6 separate regions of the Homo sapiens genome follow, and regions 2, 3, 4, 5 and 6 are each linked to region 1. The links are contacts of gene promoters, found by promoter capture Hi-C in blood cells and fetal thymus (Javierre and others, 2016). All regions are on one chromosome and are shown on one strand. Each heading gives the region's core, a stretch centred on a gene start or on the middle of the fragment in contact. The rest is flanking DNA. Distances are from core to core; before and after follow the strand shown.

Evidence for each region. The method cuts DNA at HindIII sites, captures the fragments that hold promoters and counts their contacts. A CHiCAGO score of 5 or more calls a contact.
Region 2: a contact is called between a fragment that was not itself captured here and the fragment with the promoter of FAM177B in region 1, in 1 of 17 cell types (naive B cells). The highest score is 5.3, in naive B cells.
Region 3: a contact is called between a fragment that was not itself captured here and the fragment with the promoter of FAM177B in region 1, in 1 of 17 cell types (neutrophils). The highest score is 5.2, in neutrophils.
Region 4: a contact is called between a fragment that was not itself captured here and the fragment with the promoter of FAM177B in region 1, in 1 of 17 cell types (naive B cells). The highest score is 5.4, in naive B cells.
Region 5: a contact is called between a fragment that was not itself captured here and the fragment with the promoter of FAM177B in region 1, in 3 of 17 cell types (naive B cells, total B cells and megakaryocytes). The highest score is 10.2, in naive B cells.
Region 6: a contact is called between a fragment that was not itself captured here and the fragment with the promoter of FAM177B in region 1, in 3 of 17 cell types (naive B cells, total B cells and megakaryocytes). The highest score is 7.1, in naive B cells.

Annotation. Positions count from the first base shown.
Region 1 is chr1:222,735,464-222,738,930 of GRCh38, reverse strand. FAM177B (family with sequence similarity 177 member B) reads right to left here and starts at 1,729. Exons shown (of 6, transcript NM_001394345.1): 1 at 1,609-1,729; 2 at 910-1,027. RefSeq lists a silencer at 1-16 and an enhancer at 1,946-2,487. The HindIII fragment of the contact is 3,071 bases long and covers 1-2,777 here.
Region 2 is chr1:222,889,567-222,892,954 of GRCh38, reverse strand. The region is part of intron 1 of DISP1 (dispatched RND transporter family member 1); the gene reads right to left. Among named protein-coding and RNA genes, the nearest start is that of DISP1, 76 kb to the right of the region's middle. The HindIII fragment of the contact is 2,250 bases long and covers 642-2,891 here.
Region 3 is chr1:222,552,425-222,555,791 of GRCh38, reverse strand. It overlaps a transcript of TAF1A not described here. Among named protein-coding and RNA genes, the nearest start is that of HHIPL2, 6.0 kb to the right of the region's middle. The HindIII fragment of the contact is 6,553 bases long and covers 1-3,367 here.
Region 4 is chr1:222,948,248-222,951,613 of GRCh38, reverse strand. The region is part of intron 3 of DISP1 (dispatched RND transporter family member 1); the gene reads right to left. Among named protein-coding and RNA genes, the nearest start is that of DISP1, 130 kb to the right of the region's middle. The HindIII fragment of the contact is 750 bases long and covers 1,345-2,094 here.
Region 5 is chr1:222,988,495-222,991,774 of GRCh38, reverse strand. It overlaps DISP1 (dispatched RND transporter family member 1), which reads right to left. Exons shown (of 9, transcript NM_001377229.1): 5 at 1,027-1,150; 6 at 128-255. Among named protein-coding and RNA genes, the nearest start is that of TLR5, 150 kb to the left of the region's middle. The HindIII fragment of the contact is 3,407 bases long and covers 324-3,280 here.
Region 6 is chr1:222,968,896-222,972,090 of GRCh38, reverse strand. All of the region lies in intron 3 of DISP1 (dispatched RND transporter family member 1), which reads right to left. Among named protein-coding and RNA genes, the nearest start is that of DISP1, 160 kb to the right of the region's middle. The HindIII fragment of the contact is 1,224 bases long and covers 954-2,177 here.

The DNA.
Region 1 (3,467 bases), core at 480-2,979:
GAATGAGCACAAGAGTGAGCACTAGCTAGCTCACAGTTGGTTTACTGAATGTTTTTCTGCCACCTAATGGGCATTTTAGAATATGCTATGCAAAATTCATCTTTGTAATCGGTACATGTCACACAGAGGGGTCTCAATAGTGAACAGTTTGGAATCAACTTATTTACAAAAACCTTGGGAACATTGCCAGCTTCACACCTAGATGTCGGTATTTTGTAAGTGATCTTCTTTTGGCTTTGGTTTAATTTTTTTTTTCTTTTTTTTGAGACACGGTCTTGCTTTTGCCCAGGCTGGAGTGGTGCAGTGGTGCAACCTCGACCTCCCACAGGCACGTGCCACACGCCCAGCCTTTTTTTTTTTTTTTTTGCAGTTTTTGTAGAGACGGAGTCTCCCTATATTGCCCAGGCTGGTCTTGAACTTCTGGACTCAAGCGATCCTCCTGCCTCAGCCTCCCAAAGTGCTGGGATTACAGGCATGAGCCACTGCGCCCGGCTCAGTTTAATTCTTGGGAGCACCTCTACCTTTTGTTTCTTAAAAACCCCAAATACAGACTATGAAGGATAGTTCCTAAGTATATAATGTAATTAACAGGCCATATAATCTCTCTGACCTTTTAAATATTGTATTACCCCAGGGCTCAGTGATTGGACCTCTTCTCTTTCCTATCTGCTTTCTTGATGATCTCCTTTGGCCCTGTGGCTTTCAATACTATCCACACACAGATGATTGTAACATTTATATTCTCCAGGTCAGACTTTTTCCCTGAGTCTCACAGATCCAACTACCTGCTTGACATCTCTTCTTAGTTGTCTAATGGACATCTCAATCCTAATTTGTCTAAATCTTTGCTCATGCTTTCAGTGCAACTCTCCCTCCATCCCCCCAACACACACATACTCACACATTTACCTCTACTCTTCTGGCAGCCTTCTCATCTCAATAAATGGCAACTCTGTTCTTCCAGTTGCTCAGGCCAACAACACTAAAGTCATTCTTGGTTCTTCTTTAATCACACCTCACATCAAATCTGCCAGGAAATTGTCTTGGATATTTCTGGAATCATACTTTTCATTACTCCACTGCTACCACCCTGGTCTATCATCTCTCACCCTTGCCGTCGTCTCTCACCTAGATTATTGCAGCAGCCTCCTAATTGGCCCCCTCCAGTCTACGCTCGAAAAGGAGCCAGAATTGTTAAATCCTAAGTGAGACCATGTCATGTCTTTGCTTAAAACTCTCCAGTGGGTTCCCGTCTCACCTAGAGTAAAAGCCAAACTCCTCATAATGGCCTACAAGGCTGTATACCTAACCCCTACGAGCTTTCTGACGCCATCTTGTACTACTCTCCCACCACTGACATCACTCTAACCCCACGGGCCTTCTTCCTGCAATTCCCTGACCACACAGGTCCGCCCTCTCTCTCTGCAGAGAGCTCTCTGCTGGCTGCTCTATTAGTCTTTCTTTCCTTAGACTGTTTCCTTGCTCATTTCCAGTCTTTAACTCAAATGGAGACTACACTGAGCTCCGCTTTCAAGGCAACCTCCCATTGCCTTCACCACCACCCTCTGCATCTTACCTCCTGTTTCATTTTTTCTCCTTAGCACTTACCAACACTGAACACTCCATATTCCACCTGTCTCTGTCTTCCCTTTCCTCCCTGTCCTGCCCCTTGGCAGAGGGGGAGGGTTTTACCTGTTATGTTCACTGCTGTATCTTCTGCCCCTATGATGCCTTACACGTAGCTGGAACTCAGTATTTGTTTAACAAATGAATCATACATTTAGTTAAGGTTAATGGGTGGGAGGAGTTATATAACAGATTGGAAAAATAAGAACAGACTTGTAACTGTCTTTATTTCCTGCTTTAGAAATTACTATCTTCATTTAATATTTTTCTGATTACATCTATCTACTAATCATTTCAATTAGCTCCTTCACTGAAACACAGCATTGTAATCTGTACCAAGAAAATAACACACTAGTTCTACATCTTGGCATTTAACTTCAATAAGTAAATATACTATTTTAAGTATGTAACACTTAAACATTTTCTAGAGCTCTTTCCATTTTCATTTATCTAGAAAATGTTTTCAAATGGACTGTTAAAATTCAGCTAAGAACTGATGTTGGGTCATTACGCTGGAGCTAATTAGCATTGCTTGCCTGGAGCTGCTGGTCCCCCTTCCTGCTTCCACCTTTCCTTTTTTCTGAGGTGGTTGAAAGGTCAAACCCCTGGTGAGAGGAGAGAACCAAAGCCCCACTGCGTGCCTCAGATGCAGAGTTTCACAGCGTGGTATTCACTGGGTATTCACCGACATTTCTCTAGGCCCCTTCACCTGAAGGAACTGGCCTGCTCCAATCAGTGACTTGCAGTGTGTGTGTCAGGGGCAAGGATAGAGTGAGGAAAAATGTGAAATAACAAATCACTGCCGCTCCTTGAGAATTACAGGAGCATCACCTGGCAGGATTTTTGTATCCTTATTTTCAGTATTAAACCACATACATGCACCCCACTGCCTGCATGCCTGTCCATGCCTGTCCCACTGTGGTGTTTCACAGCATTTTTTACATCATGGCAGATAGAGAAAATTAGTTGTTTGGAATTCTGGAGGCGACCAGCCTGGGAGCTCCAGCCACCTTAAGTGCTGCCCAGCTAGACACCCAGAAGGCTTCGATCAATAGCTTGAGACAAACTACTTGAGAAGCTCTGCATTAGAGAAGCAAATTCAAGTCTTGACATTTTCTCAGGGGAGTGCTCTGAAAGTGACTATATAAGCTTCTACCGACCTCAAGCAAATCACAGGCATTAGATACATTAAATTGCTGAAGTGATAGCTCTGGCTTTTTGGATATGCACAATCAAATATAGTTTTCTGTTTTATAATTTGTCAACTCCCCTTCCAGATTAACTATTTTGATCCCTTTATTACTATAACATTCTTAAATATTTAAATTTTAAGCAAATTATTCAAATGTCAAATAAAATCTTTAGATACAAACTTATGGTAACCCAAAGTGACATTCCAAGTTTATTTTACACACATTAAGAGATAAGAAACCCAGTATTTTCTAAAGCATGAGTACTCTAATTCTGAAAGAATTCTGAATATGGTATTATTTCTGCATGCATTTATACAACGCTAAAAGTGCTGCCTCAAGTTTGCAAGGAATAGAGTTTTCTACAGATTATTGTACAGCGATAATGATACACTCTTTAGCTTAGCGTACCATAGTACAAATACTGTATCATGTTGGCTATTACTAAGCACGAGACATAAACAGGCCAATCAAAATCCTTTGAGATTAAGAAGTGATAGGTGCCAATAAACATAAGTAGAAACTGAACAAGGAGCGTTGAATATTTAATGAACCCATGAAGCATAAAACAATTGATGCAAATGTTTGTCATTTTATTTTTTTTGAGACAGGGCCTCACTGTGTCGCCCAGGCTGGAGTGCAGTGGCATGA
Region 2 (3,388 bases), core at 517-3,016, 150 kb before region 1:
CATAAAACATTAATTGCCTTGAGACTTGACTTTTATTTCATGACAAACATTCCAGACATAGAAAACTTTCTTTCATGTTGCATAGATGTTGGTGTGATCACCAAGCTGGACATTCAAACACATTTTGCTTCATTTAAGCTCATTTTCTTCTTTAACAATAAAAATATTTTGTATGCTTGCACTGATTTCGGTTTTGCCATTAAAGTGAATATTGCTTTGCTAATCCAGATTACAGATGTTTCTGATTTCACATCAAAGTGTTCCATAGCCACACTGTGATCATCTCTTGCATTTATTCTGTCAAAAGTATTTACAAATAATCGTAGCCTGTAGCAGATACCAAACACTGGAAGCCCTCAGCAAACATTATTAGGTATAGTATTCAAGTAACGTAACATTCAGATCTCCTAGCAACATTAATAGCATTACAAAGAATCACATGTCCAAATGACCAATTTAAGATTTTGCTGTCAAAACTTATTATTTCTCGGGACACCACTCACTGGAATCATATACAAAATATACTATGTGAATAAGCTTATTCATACTTACGTTATTTGCAAGAATGATTCACCATTAGCAGTAGTCAGGGCTAGGAATACACACTAGTACACGGCAAAGCCACAATAAGACGTGAAGCTTTCTGTCCTGTGTTCCTCTCCAGCTTCCCAGAAATAGCCATCTTAACCTTTGACTCTCTGTGTCATGTTTCCTGCTGTTGCTGCAGACTTGATGTCCATGAATTTAATCAGTAACCTCTGCCTTGACTGCTAAACGTGAAGGAAAATTACAATACCCTGCCTGTTTTCCTGATTTCCCCACCAAATTTTTCAGCATTTGGGAATCTAGAAAAACATAAAATTCCTGAGAAATGCCAGGAAGCAAATCCTAAATGGGAACACTTCTCTTACGTATCTTTATGTAAGGTATCACTCCCTCCTCTCCTCTCCTCTCCCCACCCCCATTAATTTTCTTGCTCTTGGTTTTCAGTCATACAAGATCTTCCTAAGCTCTCTACCATCTTCTAAAACTTGTATGTGCTTCCCTGTATCACCTTCCCTTCATTGCCAATTCTTAAGATAGTTGTTTATATTTACTCCTTCTTCTTCTCCATTGGCCTTTTACTCCTCAACACACACACACCCAAATCCTGGCTTCCACTTTCACTATTCTATAACCTGTTGTACTCACTAATCACCTCAAACTGGCAAATGAGATCAGATCTCTCTCCAGGTCTCATCCTACTTTACCTTCATGTAGCATTTGATGCCATCAACCAATCCCTCCTTCTCAAAACTCTCTTCTAGCTTGGTTTCCCAAGCAGTAATCCATCTACTTTTTCTTACTGCATATTGTTTTTCCTGCTTTTTTGTTTTTTTTGTTGGCTTTTTATTCTGGCCCCCTCTTTAAATATGGATGTTTTTTAAGGTTCTAGGTCTCAGCCCTCTCATCTAAAAGCATTCTTCCTGAGTAATTTTAGCCTACTTTTGACCTATAATATAGTTTACTTCCAAATCCTTATTTCCAGCTTCAATCTTTCCCTTGATCTATAGAAAGAAATTTCTATCTTTCTACTGGATATCTCTACCTGAAAATGGTGAAAATACTTTCATCACAGCTATAGGTAGGAAATTATCTTTGATTATTCCTTCCTTCACAGCATGTTCAGCTGGTCATTAGGTCCCCTCTATCTATTCTACCTTCAAAATGTCTCCGGAATTGTCACTTCACTCTTCCTCTCAGTTTCTATGCTTCAGCTACACTTCATTTCTTAAATGAGCCATGCTTCTCCAACACAATACCTTCACACATGCTGTTCTCTCTTCCTGAAAAGTCATCCCCCCTCCTCTCTTCATCTAGCTAACTCCTGGTATTACGGGTTGGATTATGTCCCCCTCAAATTCATATATTGAAGTCTTAACCCTCAGTACCTCAGAATGTGACCTTATTTGGAAATAAAAGCTGTTGTAGATGTAATTCGTTAAAATGAGTTCATACTGGAGTAGGGTGGGTCCCTACTCCAGTATGACTGATGTCCTTATAAAAAGAGGAAATCTGGACACAGACAAGCACATGGGGAGAACACAATGTGAATGTGAAGGCAGATCAGGCTATTGTGTCTACAAACCAAGTAACACCAAAGATTTCCAACAAACCACCAGAAGATAAGAGAGAGGCATGGAACAGATTCTCCCTCATAGCCCTCAGAAGGAACCAACCCAGCCTACATATTGGTCTTGGACTTCTAGCCTCCAGAACTGAGAGACAATACATTTCTGCTGTTTAAACCACCCAGTTTGTCATACTTGTTATGGCAGCCCTAGAAAACTAACACCTAGTTGTAGCTCAGATTTAAGCTCAAATGTTACTTCTTCCAGAAGTCTTCCCCGATTCCCCCAAAATGAACTATCCCTTATCTCCCTCATTTATCAGCTCTCATAAACACTCATTGCTTTTCCTTTACAGCATTTATCATATTTATCTATGTGATTAATTATACTAAAATTATCTCCTCTACTAGTCTGTAAAGTAGATCAGCTCAGGTACTTCATTAGTTCTCCCTGTATTACTCACTTTGAAGTACTGATCCCTATCTGAAATGATCTTAATCATTTATTTAAGCACTTACCACATTTATTACTTATTTCTCCCTCCACAAAGCACAACCCTAAATTATAGAACAGTGTCTGGCACATAGTTGGTGTTCAACAATTATCTACCAAATGAACTAATGCATAAACTCCAATAGAAGAACCCATAAATGTTTTGCTCACTAATGATTATATATCCAGTTCTTAACATATAGAAAGCTGGTCATATAGAAAGCAATAAATAATTATACATGTTGAATAAATGAGCCTACTTAATAAGTATTTCACTATAAGGAAGCTTATCACTTTAAAAAATCACTTGTAAATATTAACAGTTTGGAGATGATAACCTTTCATATGCTAAAGTAAATCTTTTTTAGTTACATTAATTTACTTCTACTTTCCAGTTGATATTTAATATTTAGAAACATATGCCAATAAAACAGCTTGAAAGGCACAGCTCTAAGCTATGACTGGTTTCAAAATGATTTAAATTCATAGAATAAAAATACAGAACTTCACTACTTCCTTGGTTAAGGTTTCTGCTCTGAAACAACAAAATGGAAAAGTACAAGTGTAAAAGAAGTTTTCAAGATAATGAAATCAGAAATTGTCTTCATTTTATATTACTGCAGTAATGCTGACAACAGTAAGTAATTTTTAAAAGATATTTTTACCCATTATCCCATGTCTCTTAACCTAACAGGCATTTCCTGTTTCTGTGTTTTGTGTAGTCTTTGCCCCAAGGCATATATAGTTCATGTAGTTATAATAAAACGTGGCTCTGTGAAAAAAAA
Region 3 (3,367 bases), core at 868-3,367, 180 kb after region 1:
ATTATCACTATAATCAAGCTAATTAATATCTTCATTACCTCTACATAATTACCATTATGTATGTATTGTGTATGTATGTGTGATGAGAAGATATAAGATCTTTCTTAACAAATTACAAGTATGTAATACAGTACTGAACTGTCATCACCATGCTGGACATTGGATATCCAGAAATCGTTCATCTTGTATCACTGAAACTTTGTACCATTTGACCAATATCACTCCATTTCCCCCTTCCCTCAGCCCCTGGCAACCATCTTACCCTCTGCTTCTATGAATTGGACTCAGATTTCACATACAAGTGAGATGATCGTGCAGTATTTCTCTTTCTGTGTCTTGCCTATTTTAATTTTGCTCAGCATAATGTCCTCCATGTTCTGAATGGCAGGATTTCTTCCTTTTATAAGGCTGAGCAGTATGTAATTGTAATTTTATAAACCCTATCTTTATTCATCAAAGGACGTTGAGTAATGCTGCAATGAACATAGGAGTGCAGATATCTCTTTGCAACCTTGATTTCAATTCTTTTGGGTATATACCCAGATATTTCTATTTTCAATTTTTTGGGGGAACCTCCATATTGTTTTCCATAATTTACATCCCCAACAGCAGCATACAAGCGCTTCCTCTTCTCTTCATCCTCCCTAGCACTTATCTTTGACCTTTGATACGATTCATTCTACCAGGTGTGAGGCTGTATCTCCTGGTTTGATTAGCATTTCCGTCGTGACTGGAGATGTTGAGCACTTATTCATATACCTGTTAGCAATTTGAATTTCTTTTGAGAAGTGTCTATGTAGGTCCTTTGCCCATTTTAAAGTGGAATTATATTTTTGTTATTGAGTTGTATGAGTTCTTTCTATATTTTGGATTATTAGTCCCTAGCTGATTAATTATATGGAATGTGAATTACATCTCTGTAAAGCTGTCAACACCCCATTCCCTTCCCACCTCCCCTCATAAAAAGAAATAAAAGAATGTTCTATGGAGTCAGAAAGGTCTGGGTTCAAATTCCAGCATGACTGAAGCCCCCCACCTAGCCTGGGCCTCACCTTTATTCTGTAAAATGGGATGGTCTGGAAAGGTTGATGTAAAGTGCTGAGCATGGGTCCTGGTAAATGTTTTTTCTCAATAAATAGAAACATTGTTTTATGTTAACATTTTTGAAAAAGGAAAAGCAACAAAAATTAAAAAAACAGATAGGTGTGCCCTTTTGGACCCAGTTATTTACCTATATTTACAGCACAAGGGCTTTTTCTGCTGGATTGAATTAGAATCTTTGTATTTTAAATATTCCAAAAGGAAACAAGCAAGACCTTTGATGGATGGTCTACAAATAATATGACTAACATCTGAATAAGTCAATCCAAGATTCATGCTTCTAAACCAATCTGCCACCAGGTAAGAGTCGACTCAGTCCCATAAAAAATACGAAGCTGACTTCTATGTTGTTTTCATAGTTATGAAGGTAGCCTTTAGCTCAGTGAGTAGAGGCGGCTCTTTGTTTCCGCCCGTCAGTCCCATAGTGATACCACTGCCAGTTGTTTAATTACAACTCCCCTCCTGCCTATACCAAGAACTCCCAGATAATCTTATCAATGGAACTGAATCTTCAGTCAATACACTCTTCAGTAGGCTGCATCAGACAAATTTTTCCAAATGAAGAACAAATAAAAGTGATAACTACTTTCGTTCTTTTTGGGTACATCCTGATGGAATGAAAAAGATCTGGGCTGTAATTCAGAACACCTGAATTGTGTTGCCATCTCTATTCATCTAAAGTGGGGCCCTAAAATATTTCACTGAACCCCTCTTGGACTTCATTCATTCATATGCTCACTGGTAATATATCTACCTTGCTGACTTAATTGTCTTGAGAGAACTGAAGATCAAATGAAATGCAGTGTGGGGAAATACTTTGTAAACTGTAATGCTTCGTACAAGTGAGTTGTTATACTTTCTCTAATCTGAGGTACAACCTGTTCATCTTTAGACTGTGACAGAGGGAGTCTGAAGGCAGATAGATAGTTACATCAGTAAACTATATGAGAAGCTACTGAGCTAGAACATTTCTTTTTATATTTTTTCTGTTGTGTTCCATGACCTGATTTAGGATAAACACCTGACTCTCAACATCACTTTTTAAAAGGCACTTGCACTGGACATGGTGGCTCATGCCTATAATCCCGGCACTTTAGGAGGCCGAGGGGGATAGATCACTTGAGCCCAGGAGTTCAAGACCAGCCTGGGCAACATGGTGAAACCACCGTCTCTACAAAGAAAAAAAAAAGTAAAAATTAACTGAGCGTGGTAGCACACACCTGCAGTTCCAGCTACTGGCACTCCAGCCTGGGTGACACTGAGACCCTGTCTTGTGCGGGGCGGCGGGGGGGATGTTAAAAGGCACATGCTATATGAAACTGTGTGCGTGTGTGTGAATGTGTGTGTTACTGCTGTGGGCTGAATTGTGTCCCCTAAAAAAGAATGGTTGAAGTCCTACCCCCCAGTACCTCAGAATGTGACCTTATTTGGGGATAGTTTTTACAGAGACAATCATGTTAAAATGAAGTCATTATGGTGGGCACTAATCCAGTATGACTGGTGTCCTTATAAAAGGGGAAATTTGGACACAAACGCACACAGGGAGAAGGAGCACCATGTGAACATGAAGACAGAGCTTGGGGTGATGCATCCACAATCGGAATGCAAGATTGCTGGCAGACCCCACGAAGCTAGGGATCAGGCATGGAGCAGTGTCCCTTGCGGCCTTCAGAAGGAACCAACCCTGCCAACATCTTAATCTCAGACTTCTGGGCTCCCGAGCTGTGAGACAATACATTTCTGTTGTTTAAGCCACCAAGTTTGTGGCTGTGTTAACAGCAGCCCAAGCTAATTTTTTAAAGGATTATGTTTGCTTCAAAAGTGGAAACTGAAGTGATTTCAGATACTCTGTCTGGTCCTAGCTTATAGTTTCAGAGTTATTTTATAAGCTCACCTAATGTTCAGTGAAAATGTCTTTTCTGTTCTTTTCCATCTATAACTTATCTAAAAGCTCCAGTCAACTTTCATTATGATATTCTTAATCCCCTGCAGCCGAATGTCATCTCTCCGTCCTTGGGATCCCTAATGGCAGTTTGTTCCTCCCTTACTGTTACCTTAATCTTATATCTGCCAGTATTATTTGGATACTTTCATCCTTTTTTCTCAGAGCATAAACTCCTTGAAAAAGTTTGTTTTATATGTCAGTTTTCTGTTAAACATTTCTATTCCAGCATAATACTTCACACAAAATAGTATGTATTTACTGAATTGACACCAAGACATCTTTTGTAAAATTATTGCATGATTATTATATAATTACATATAT
Region 4 (3,366 bases), core at 470-2,969, 210 kb before region 1:
GATCTGAGTAAAGCAGAGACTGTGGGATCTGCGTCAATGATCAGGTTCATGCCACAATGTTGATGAAGTGTTCAAAGTGATTTCTGGCTCAAATTTTCTGACTAACAAAATAATACAATCACCAGGGCTAAGGAGAGGGGAAAGGATGTCATGGTACAGCACATGCCAATAAACAAGAATTCTGGTGGTAGAATTCTTGTCTTTTTAATATAACATGAGAATTCTCATTTCTTACTTTTTTTTTTTTGTTTTAAAAGAGGCCCCTTCATAGAAAATAACTAATGCCCTAAGGGGAAACAAAAAGAAAACCTCTGAGAAAAATGAGTCAGAAATTAGAAAATGAATAAAGAAATGAAAGGAAATGTAAGTTATAAAAATTATACAGTCATAACATATGGGGGTGGCAGGGACAATATTTAGTTAACTTTAAGAGGCTAAGCTAGTCCCAGGGTTCTACGGTTCCCTCTACGCCAAGCATTCTTAACTCTGTATAGCTCTAATTCCTCTAGTGAGTCACATGAAACATTCAAAATGGCCATCTGTCTATGAAATCACCTTAGGTAAATAAAAATGCATTTGGCAGGTACCCAAAAATATCACAGGTTCCCTATCATGATAATGAGTCTGTGGCATTGCCAAGTATCATTTATGGAGTCCTCTGTTACAATCAAGAATATTTCTTTGCAACACCGAATTAAAAGGTAAGTATAGTTTAGATTAGAACTCTAGTGTGCTATTTTTGGATGCAGAACTCCTTATTAATTTTGCAATAATACCACTACTCTTTCACTTTAATACGGCAATAAGAAGATCCCAAATGAATAACTCAAAACTTGCTTCAACCAGCACACGTGGAATGTGACTGGCTTTTGAGAGGTATTTTCCAGCTCTCTGGAGGATAAAGAACAGATCATCAAATGGACTGTTCAGGACGTAGATTGGGGACACCCACAATGACCCTCCGCTCCCACAATCTTGTTCTCTTTACCTTTCTCACATGGGTTTTTTTTTTTTGAGACGGAGTCTCGCTCTGTCCTCGAGGCCGGAGTGCAGTGGTGCGATCTCAGATCACTGCAAGCTCTGCCTCCCGGGTTCAGGCCATTCTCCTGCCTCAGCCTCCCGAGTAGCTGGGACTACAGGTGCCCACCACCACGCCCAGCTAATTTTTTGTATTTTTAGTAGAGAAGGGGTTTCACTGTGTTAGCCAGGACGGTCTCGATCTCCTGACCTCATGATCCGCCTGCCTCGGCTTCCCAAAGTACTGGGATTACAGCGTGAGCCACTGCGCCTGGCCCTTTCTTACATGTTTTAAGAAATATTTTAAAGCTTTGGTTTTTGAAAGCTTTCCCTTCACAACTTTCCTCCACTTTCCATGTTTTGCCTCCTCGAGTCCCTTCATTCATTTCTAGTCATCTTTCAAGGGCCATTCATGTTCTGTTCTTCTCAGTCAGACTGTCCCTAACCTCAATAACCTACAGGGATCCTTCCAGGGGATCCTTCCCACCTCTCAACTCTTAGAGTTATTTATTGTTTCTACTGCAAAAGAAATATCTTCTTATTCTACTTATTTTATTTTTAATTCCCCAGGTGACTCCAAAGATGATCAGCTAGGTTTAGGACTTGTTGGTATAAGTCTTGCCTCATGGTGAGGAGAGACTATTTTCAGCCTTTTAAAATTCCTTATTGTGGCTGGGCGCTGTGGCTCATGCCTGTAATCCCAGCACTTTGGGAGGCTGAGGCAGGCGGATCACTTGAGGCCAGGAGTTCAAGACCAGCCTGGTCAACATGGTGAAACCCCATCTCTACTAAAAGTACAAAAATTAGCTGGGCGTGGTGGTGTGCGCCTGTAATCCCAACTGCTCAGGAGGCTGAGGCAGAAGAATCCGTTGAACCCAGGAGGTGGAGGTTGCAGTGAGCTGAGATCGTGCCACTGCACTCCAGCCTGGGCGATGGAGCAAGACTCTGTCTCAAAAAGAAACAAATAAATAAAATAAGATAAAATAAAATTCCTTATTGTTCTCAATTAGACATGTTAATTAAGGGCTGAATAATGTATATGAGGACAGGAATCTACAAATATAAAAGCCTGAAGCTTTAAAATGAAATCTAAAGCTTTAAAATAAAATCGATTTAAGCTACTTAATATTTGGCAATAATTAAAATAGACATATTAAATGTGATCCTTGCAATAATCTTTATTTTAATTTTATGTATTTTTTTTTTTGAGAGTCTCCCTCTGTCGCTCAGGCTGGAGTGCAGTGGTACGATCCTGGCTTACTGCAACCTCCACCTCTCGGATTCAAGTAATTCTCCTGCCTCAGCCTCCCAAGTAGCTGGGACTACAGGTGCGCACCACCACACCAGGCTAATTTTTGTAGTTTAGCAGAGACAGGGTTTCGCCATTGCTGGCCAGGCTGGTCTCGAACTCCTGACCTCAAGTGATTGGCCTGCCACAGCCTCCCAAAGTTCTGGGATTACAAGCTCAAGCCACCACGCCTGGCCTTAATTTTATTAATCGGAACACTAAAAAGGAATTTTTTTTTAAAAAAAACACACAGATGGTTGATATAATGAATCTTTTAGAAAGATTTATTAAAGCTTAAAGAATCAAGAGGGGATGAAAGAGAGTCTACTATACAAAAGGTGGTAAGTAGCAAATGGCCTACGTTAAAATTATATTTTCTATCTGATTGATTCTTTAAAACATTCTCTATGGCTTAAGTGCTTTATAAACAAATAAAAACTTTAGAAAACACTTTCAAATACAAACAGGTGGGCCCATTTGTGGTATAGGTGCAAATAACAATAAAAATTGATAGCACTTAGGATCTTCCATCACCATACAATTTTACTCTAAGGCGGTCAATGTTTAACACATCCTTTAAAGTAATGTGAAGTCATAAATACACCTTAAACATTAATTGAATAACATTTCATTAAGTACTTACTTGACCTTATCAATTTAAAAAGAACTTAAAAATTACATAGCAATAAACCACAATAAAGAAAACTAAAAAGACTTGAAGTTCCTGGTCGAGATCAACCTCTAGAACCTTTGTTACAGTAAGTTCCTGAAAGAGTTGCGTAGAATAATCAAAGGCAGTAAAGCATGGTACAACATCCTCATTTTCAGAATTCCTTACCAAGGACATCCTGTGCAGACTTTCCCAAACTGCCCTGTTCTCCCATACATAGATAGCAGCTCTATCGAAGAGCACATTTGCTTCTGTGGATATTTTATTGGTTGGGTAAAGGACGAGATAGCATCTCACTCAGTGCCTTGCCCATAGCACAATTCTGCAAATATAATACCTGCTGGCCTGAGTCAAAGTGCTTCAGTGTTCATTCTAAGATAACCCCCACCAG
Region 5 (3,280 bases), core at 778-3,277, 250 kb before region 1:
AAATTCAGTGGCAAAGATTTTGAGCCACACATTTTACATTTAAATTTTTTGTTTAGGCAGTATTTGAAGAGGAATTCATTCAGCAATGTTTTGTCTAAAAGTTATATAAAAATAAATAATTGATTACCTTTTGGCTTGTTCATCTGCATATTTAAAGGGATAATTTGCTAATGTTGCTTTGTATCCTGTATTTTTCACCATATTATTCCATGTGACCAATCTCTGGCCTATTGCTGTTCCTCTTGGTTCAAAACCCTAAGGCAAAATTACAGGTGCTCATTAGTATATTTCATTTCAGGCTAAGTACAGTTACAATAAAAGCTTGGGAAAGCAATGTCAAAGTGATATATAGCTTTCAACAGAAAATATAGCTGTTCCTCACAGCTACTCCAGAGGTGACTGCATTAAAACAAGATGCCTTGACATGATAATCATCACCTATTTGCTGTGACAAAACAGTTTGATTCTTTGGTATGTTACATGTCTAAAGAAAGTTTATCTTTCCAACTCATGCCTAAGCATTTAGTAAATACTTACTTTTATCTTATAAAAATTATGATCAAATTAAATCATGTTACGCACTGTATTTTTACAAAGAGTGTTTCATTATCCTTGATCATATTTTCCTCATTATTCCACTCCAGAGAAACATTTACTTAAAAACAGACTCTGTGATCTGTTAGTAATACTGAAATTCCTTTAACTTCTTTGGGAGAAAACAGAGACAGTGTTAAAGACTTTATGAGAATAATTTTGTAGAAGGCAGATTCTCCAATTTATTGCTTTTTAGCTTAAACATGGGGACCAAGAAGCAAACCTTCCAGATTTTTGAGGGTAAACAAGTTCCTTGACCTTTTAAGAACCTGATAATACAGATAAAGTCATGTCTTTACTTTTCAGAAAGAGAATTGTTGCTTGAGAAGGTTTTTAAAGAAATGGGTTACTAAATAACATAATGCAACATGTATTAAAATACACAATATTTGGAGATGATTTTAGGCTAAAGAAAACATAAAAGTTAGTTACCAGCAATGGATCAGAGAAGTCAGGGAGCTCTGGCACTAATACTCCAACCAAGGCACAGACTACGATGAACATGGTGCACATGCCCAAGACCACCACCGGCCAGTCGGCTATCAGGGCTGCATAACTACAAAACACAAAGAAGTGTCGGCTATCAGAGCTGCATAACTACAGAAACACAAAGAAGGCACAAAGAAGGCCCTTCGCAGAAATATTTTTGGTACCTAAGACAGCAATTTATTAAATCCTCATATTGTAGACTACATACAGGTGTTTATCAATACAATATCTAATGGGATTATAAATATTTGTATGTAATTGTAGTAGAAAGTTACAAGATCATTGTCCCCTCATTTTTGTGATCAAGTAGCACTTTATGCCACAGGCTATTGAGAGTCAGAATAATGTTCATATATGACAAGTAACATTTTATATCTACATCTATGCCTGTAAAGAGATATAAAATACACACTTCATCAGTGGAAAGAAAATAAATTTTAACAGAGGATCCATACTCCAATCAGTGTCTTTCAGAACTTTTGTTTCTCTAGTTATTCCCTTTCTCCACACCTTTACTCTCAGAGTTCTTAAACAGTGAGAGTCTATAAACAGGTTCATACAGTTCAGATCTTAAAAATAACCAAACTAAGGGCTGAGCATGGTGGCTCACACCTGTAATCTCAGCACTTTGGGAGGCTGAGGCGGGTGGATCACAAGGTCAGGAGTTCGAGACCATCCTGACTAACACGGTGAAACCCTGTCTTTACTAAAAATACAAAAAATTAGTTGGGCATGGTGGCACACGCCTGTAGTCCTAGCTACTTGGGAGGCTGAGGCAGGAGAATCACTTGGACCCGGGAGGTGGAGGTTGCAGTGAGCTGAGATCATGCCACTGCACTCCAGCCTGGGCGACAGAGCTAGATTCTGTCTCAAAAAAAAAAAAAACTAAACTAAACACTTCCCATAAACCTGTAACTTTCCTTCTAGCTAAAACTACAGTGAGCATATCCACTAGATATGTGAGTTCCATGAGAGCAGAAATTCTTGTCAGTGGAAGTTGATCAATAACTATCTATTGACTAAATGAACAAACATCTGATGCTTGTACTCTCCAGCTACTACAATCTGGTTTTAGTCTCTTCCCACATGTGCAGAACTGTCTCTATTACCAAATCCTAACACTGGGCCCTTTCTTCCAGATGCGCTTCCCACACCCTCATTTGTTACCTCAAATTGAAAGATCTGTTTCTGTATCCCTTCCATGAGGTCCTGGATCACACGTTATTATTTTGGCACTTCCAAGTCTTGATATGAGCTGAGTACCCAACAGAAGCTGACTAAACTGAACGTTTTCTAAAATTCAAAATGCATCCTGCAAACTTCTGGCTTCTTGAATCTTTATTAGAAGAAAAGCAAGACAAAATATTTAACTTGTGGACCACTACTCTCAAATTCTCAGTAATGTTAGCTCATTTGGCTGCTGCAATGGCTATTTCTGGCTCATTTGAAATAGGATTCTTACTCATATATTTTTGAGTTATTTCTTCAAAATCATGCTAGTAGTTACAAATAATTCTGGTGGCTCTAAATGTCAGTCTGAAAAAAAGCTACTATATGTCTCTAATAATAGACTGCCAATTTTTATAATCTGATGTCTTAACTTTATTGATCTGGCTTTGTGGAGATATTTGCTTCAAATTATAATTCTAGTAAGGATATTAAAATATAGAGCAATTATGCTTTAAGGGAGCATGTGCACAGGCACTTTTCACTGCTGCTCTTTTAAAGTAATCTTAAAAGGCCAGACACAGTGGCTCACGCCTGTAATCCCAACACTTTGGGACGCTGAGGCAGTCAGATCACCTGAGGTCAGGAGTTTGAGACCAGCCTGGCCAACATGGTGAAACTCTGTCTCTACAAAAATGCAAAAATTAACTGGGCATGGTGGCACACGCCTGTAGTCCCAGCTACTTGGGAGGCTGAGGCAGGAGAATTACTTGAACCCAGGAGGCGGAGGTTGCAGTGAGCAGAGATCATATCACTGCACTCCAGCCTGGGTGAGCAACACTCTGTCAAAAAAAAAAAAAAAGAGAAAGAAATAAAGCTATAAAGGAAGGAAGGAAGAAAAAAGAAAGAAAGAGAAGAGAGAGAAAGGAAGAAAAAAGAAAGAGAGAGAGAAAGAGAAATCTTATAAAAATAAATAAATAAATACAAGCTCGTCCTTATTCAGAATACCAGTTGCTCTTGTGCTTTACAT
Region 6 (3,195 bases), core at 316-2,815, 230 kb before region 1:
TGCCTCAAACTATAATCGAAAATATCTACTGAAGTGAAGTTAGTGATAATTTGAGTTACAACACAAATAAGTTGTTCAAAAGATTAGTCTACAGGTTGAGGGTACGGTTTTATAAGTACATTTTGGAACTTACATTAAGCCTAATTCAACAAATATATTTTATTACCTTCATTAAGATACACACACATTTCTCACTTTCAAAATTTTATGGATCTTACATAAAATACTAAAACCTTTCCACATTTTCACTATAAACTATACAAATTGCATAAAGAGTTTTTGTGTTAATTATAACCTCAGTGAAGATATGTTTGCATTTCTGAAAGTAAGTTCAAATTATGTATTTTATATCTAAGATCCCATCTCAAATTTGCTCATTTGTTAACAGGACAAGGCCTTCATCAATGAGACCACAGATCAAAAGTATAAATACAATCATAATTCATCAATGTGCGGATTCTCTTTTCCTCCAACATTTGCTTAGTTTCAATTTGTAGTTTGTCTACATTGTGTTCAATGTAAGAACTGTTACTTAAGCTTAAAATTACAGAAACATTATTAATCTTTCTTAAGTTCATTTCCCACATATCTTGGATCATTTTGTCCCTACAGAATTATTCGGTATCATACAAGGTTGAGTTTGGAAGGTTAAAAGTCACACCTGCTATGAAAAAAAAAAACTTGGGGGGTGTGGGGTTAAAAAATAATAAAAAATCCACTGTATCAAAATGAACTCCAACGGTGTAACCAATACCTTGCAGCTGTTGTGATATCTTCATTTACAGGCCAGGAGGAGAGACATTTCCCTCAAACTTCTATAGAAATTCTTTAGCTATGCTTTTAAGGACAAAAATATACAGTGAAATTGATTTTTCTTCCTGATCTAAACTTTCTCATGCTTAATCTCTAACTTAAAATTTAAATTTTTGTAACTCAAATCATTGTCAAAAGCTTTAATAAGGATCAAAGCAAAACTCTAACAATCAGCGTTAATAAAAATAATACTGATTTAGAAGGTTTTCTTCTCAAAATCTGAGATTAGAAAAGAAAAAAAATCAACTAAACTTAAAATAATTAAACTGAGGAAATAATGAGACTTTTCTGACGAAAAGTAGGGAAAGCCACAAGATGCTGGGGCTGCATGACCTCAAACTGTAATAATGTCCCTTTTACACTTTGGCACTAGGGCAACCAGGGAAAACTTTAAATTCATTGTATTCAATTTGTCACGGTGTAGATTCTGTTTGCAACTCCAGAATCTATTATACATGCCAGTGACACCCAAATACTATGTGACAACTTTTAGAAACAAATTCTAAGTATAATGTATTTTTTAAAAGACGGCAATGAGAAATCAGAGGACCAGTTTCAAACTGGGTGTTAATCTTGGGTTTTAGCCTCTTTGGCTTCAGTCTCCTCTGTAAAATAAGGAGAGTTAGATTAAATTATTTCTAAGGTCCTTTCCTGCTGTGAAATTCTATTGTATTTTCCTGTGGAATTTTAGATAATTCAAATCACCACATATTTTAGTCTCCTAAAGTATTTCAACACTCTGGCATGGCTAAAGCTAGTGAGCCAGGTTCCTGTAATCAAAATTTGATGTTAAAATATTTCACATGAATAGGCAATAAAAATGATCCCCCCATAAGGTAGGCAAGAACTAGTATTTTAAAATGCTTTGAAAAATAATGCCGGCTCTTTATGTGAACGGCTAGAGACAGACTTTTTAAATGACTAGATAAATGGCTTAATAAAAAAAAAGAGCTCAAAAATGCTTGCTAGGAAGACAGAGCAGAATTCTCCATCTGTCTGCCTTAGATGAAGGTGGAGATTGATGAACGGGTGACACTAATAACACATCCGTGCTGGTGCATGTCACACTGTAGGAAATAACGCCAGGTTACTAAAGATGGTCATGTTGAGATTGCTCAGGAATCGTCTAGTTTACCAACCGAGTGAGTTTTATCAGAAGAGCAAATACGAAAGAGTGCTCAAGTTAAAAGGGGTATTTAAAAATTTCCCAAAGTACTTTTCCTGAGTTTCTCATTTACTATCTCAGAAAGGCAATATACGCCCCTCTTTTTTCATTCTAAAAATTTTCCTTTAGTAGACTTTTTCACTTAATGTTTTGTCTATTCTAAAATATAAAGTTTAATTTTTAAAGGAAGAGGAAAGCTTTAATGAGGAATATATTTTCTGTATTAATGTTGGTTTGTTTTCTGATTATAAAACTAACACATTTTCCTGAAGCCTAAGAAAATGCAGAAAATTACACAATTACCCATATTCTTACTACACAGATAAAACATTGTAACTCTTTTTGATCTATTTTCTCTGAATATTTTTCCTTTTTGCCTAAATATAGAAATTAAATATAAACAAAATTATGATCACACTAGATGCATAAAGTATTATCACTTTGGATTAGCATTTTCCATATAATTAAAATCTTCTGAAAACATGATTTTTAGTAGCCACATGTTCCATTATATTTGCCATTACTTATATATCACACAATTGTAACCATACTACTACGTTACGTTAGATTGCAACTTGTTTCTCATTTATTTGTAAGAATCTTGAATTAAAGCTAGGAAACATCCCCAATTGTGGCAAATAGTTTTCCTAGTTTGTGGTATTTTTCAAGATGGTTTTTGGATAGGCATTAAATTTTTTTTCAACACTTTGTATTTTTCTTTGTAATTTTTTTTTTTTTTTTTGAGACCAAGTTTCACTCTTTTTGCCCAGGCTGGAGTGCAATGGCATGATCTTGGATCACTGCAACCTCTACCTCCTAGACTCAAGTGATTCTCCTGTCTCAGCCTCCTGAGTAGCTGGGATTACAGGTATGCACTACTGCGCCTGGCTAATTTTGTATTTTTACTAGAGATGGGGTTTCACTGTGTTGGCCAGGCTGGTCTCGAACTCCTGACGTCAGATGATCCACCCACCTCAGCCTCCCAAAGTGCTGGGATTACAGGCGTGAGCCACCGTGCCCAGCATTTTCTTAGTAATTTCTATGACTGCTTTTACAATTAAAGAGTCATCCTTGATCCAGATGTTAGTTTTTCCCAATTCCACTTACTTAATAATCTAGGTCAGCTCTATTACTTTCTGATGCTTCAATTACCATCTTTGGTAAAACTCCTTTTTTTTTGAGACAGAGTTTTGCTCTTGTCGCCCAGGCTGGAGTGC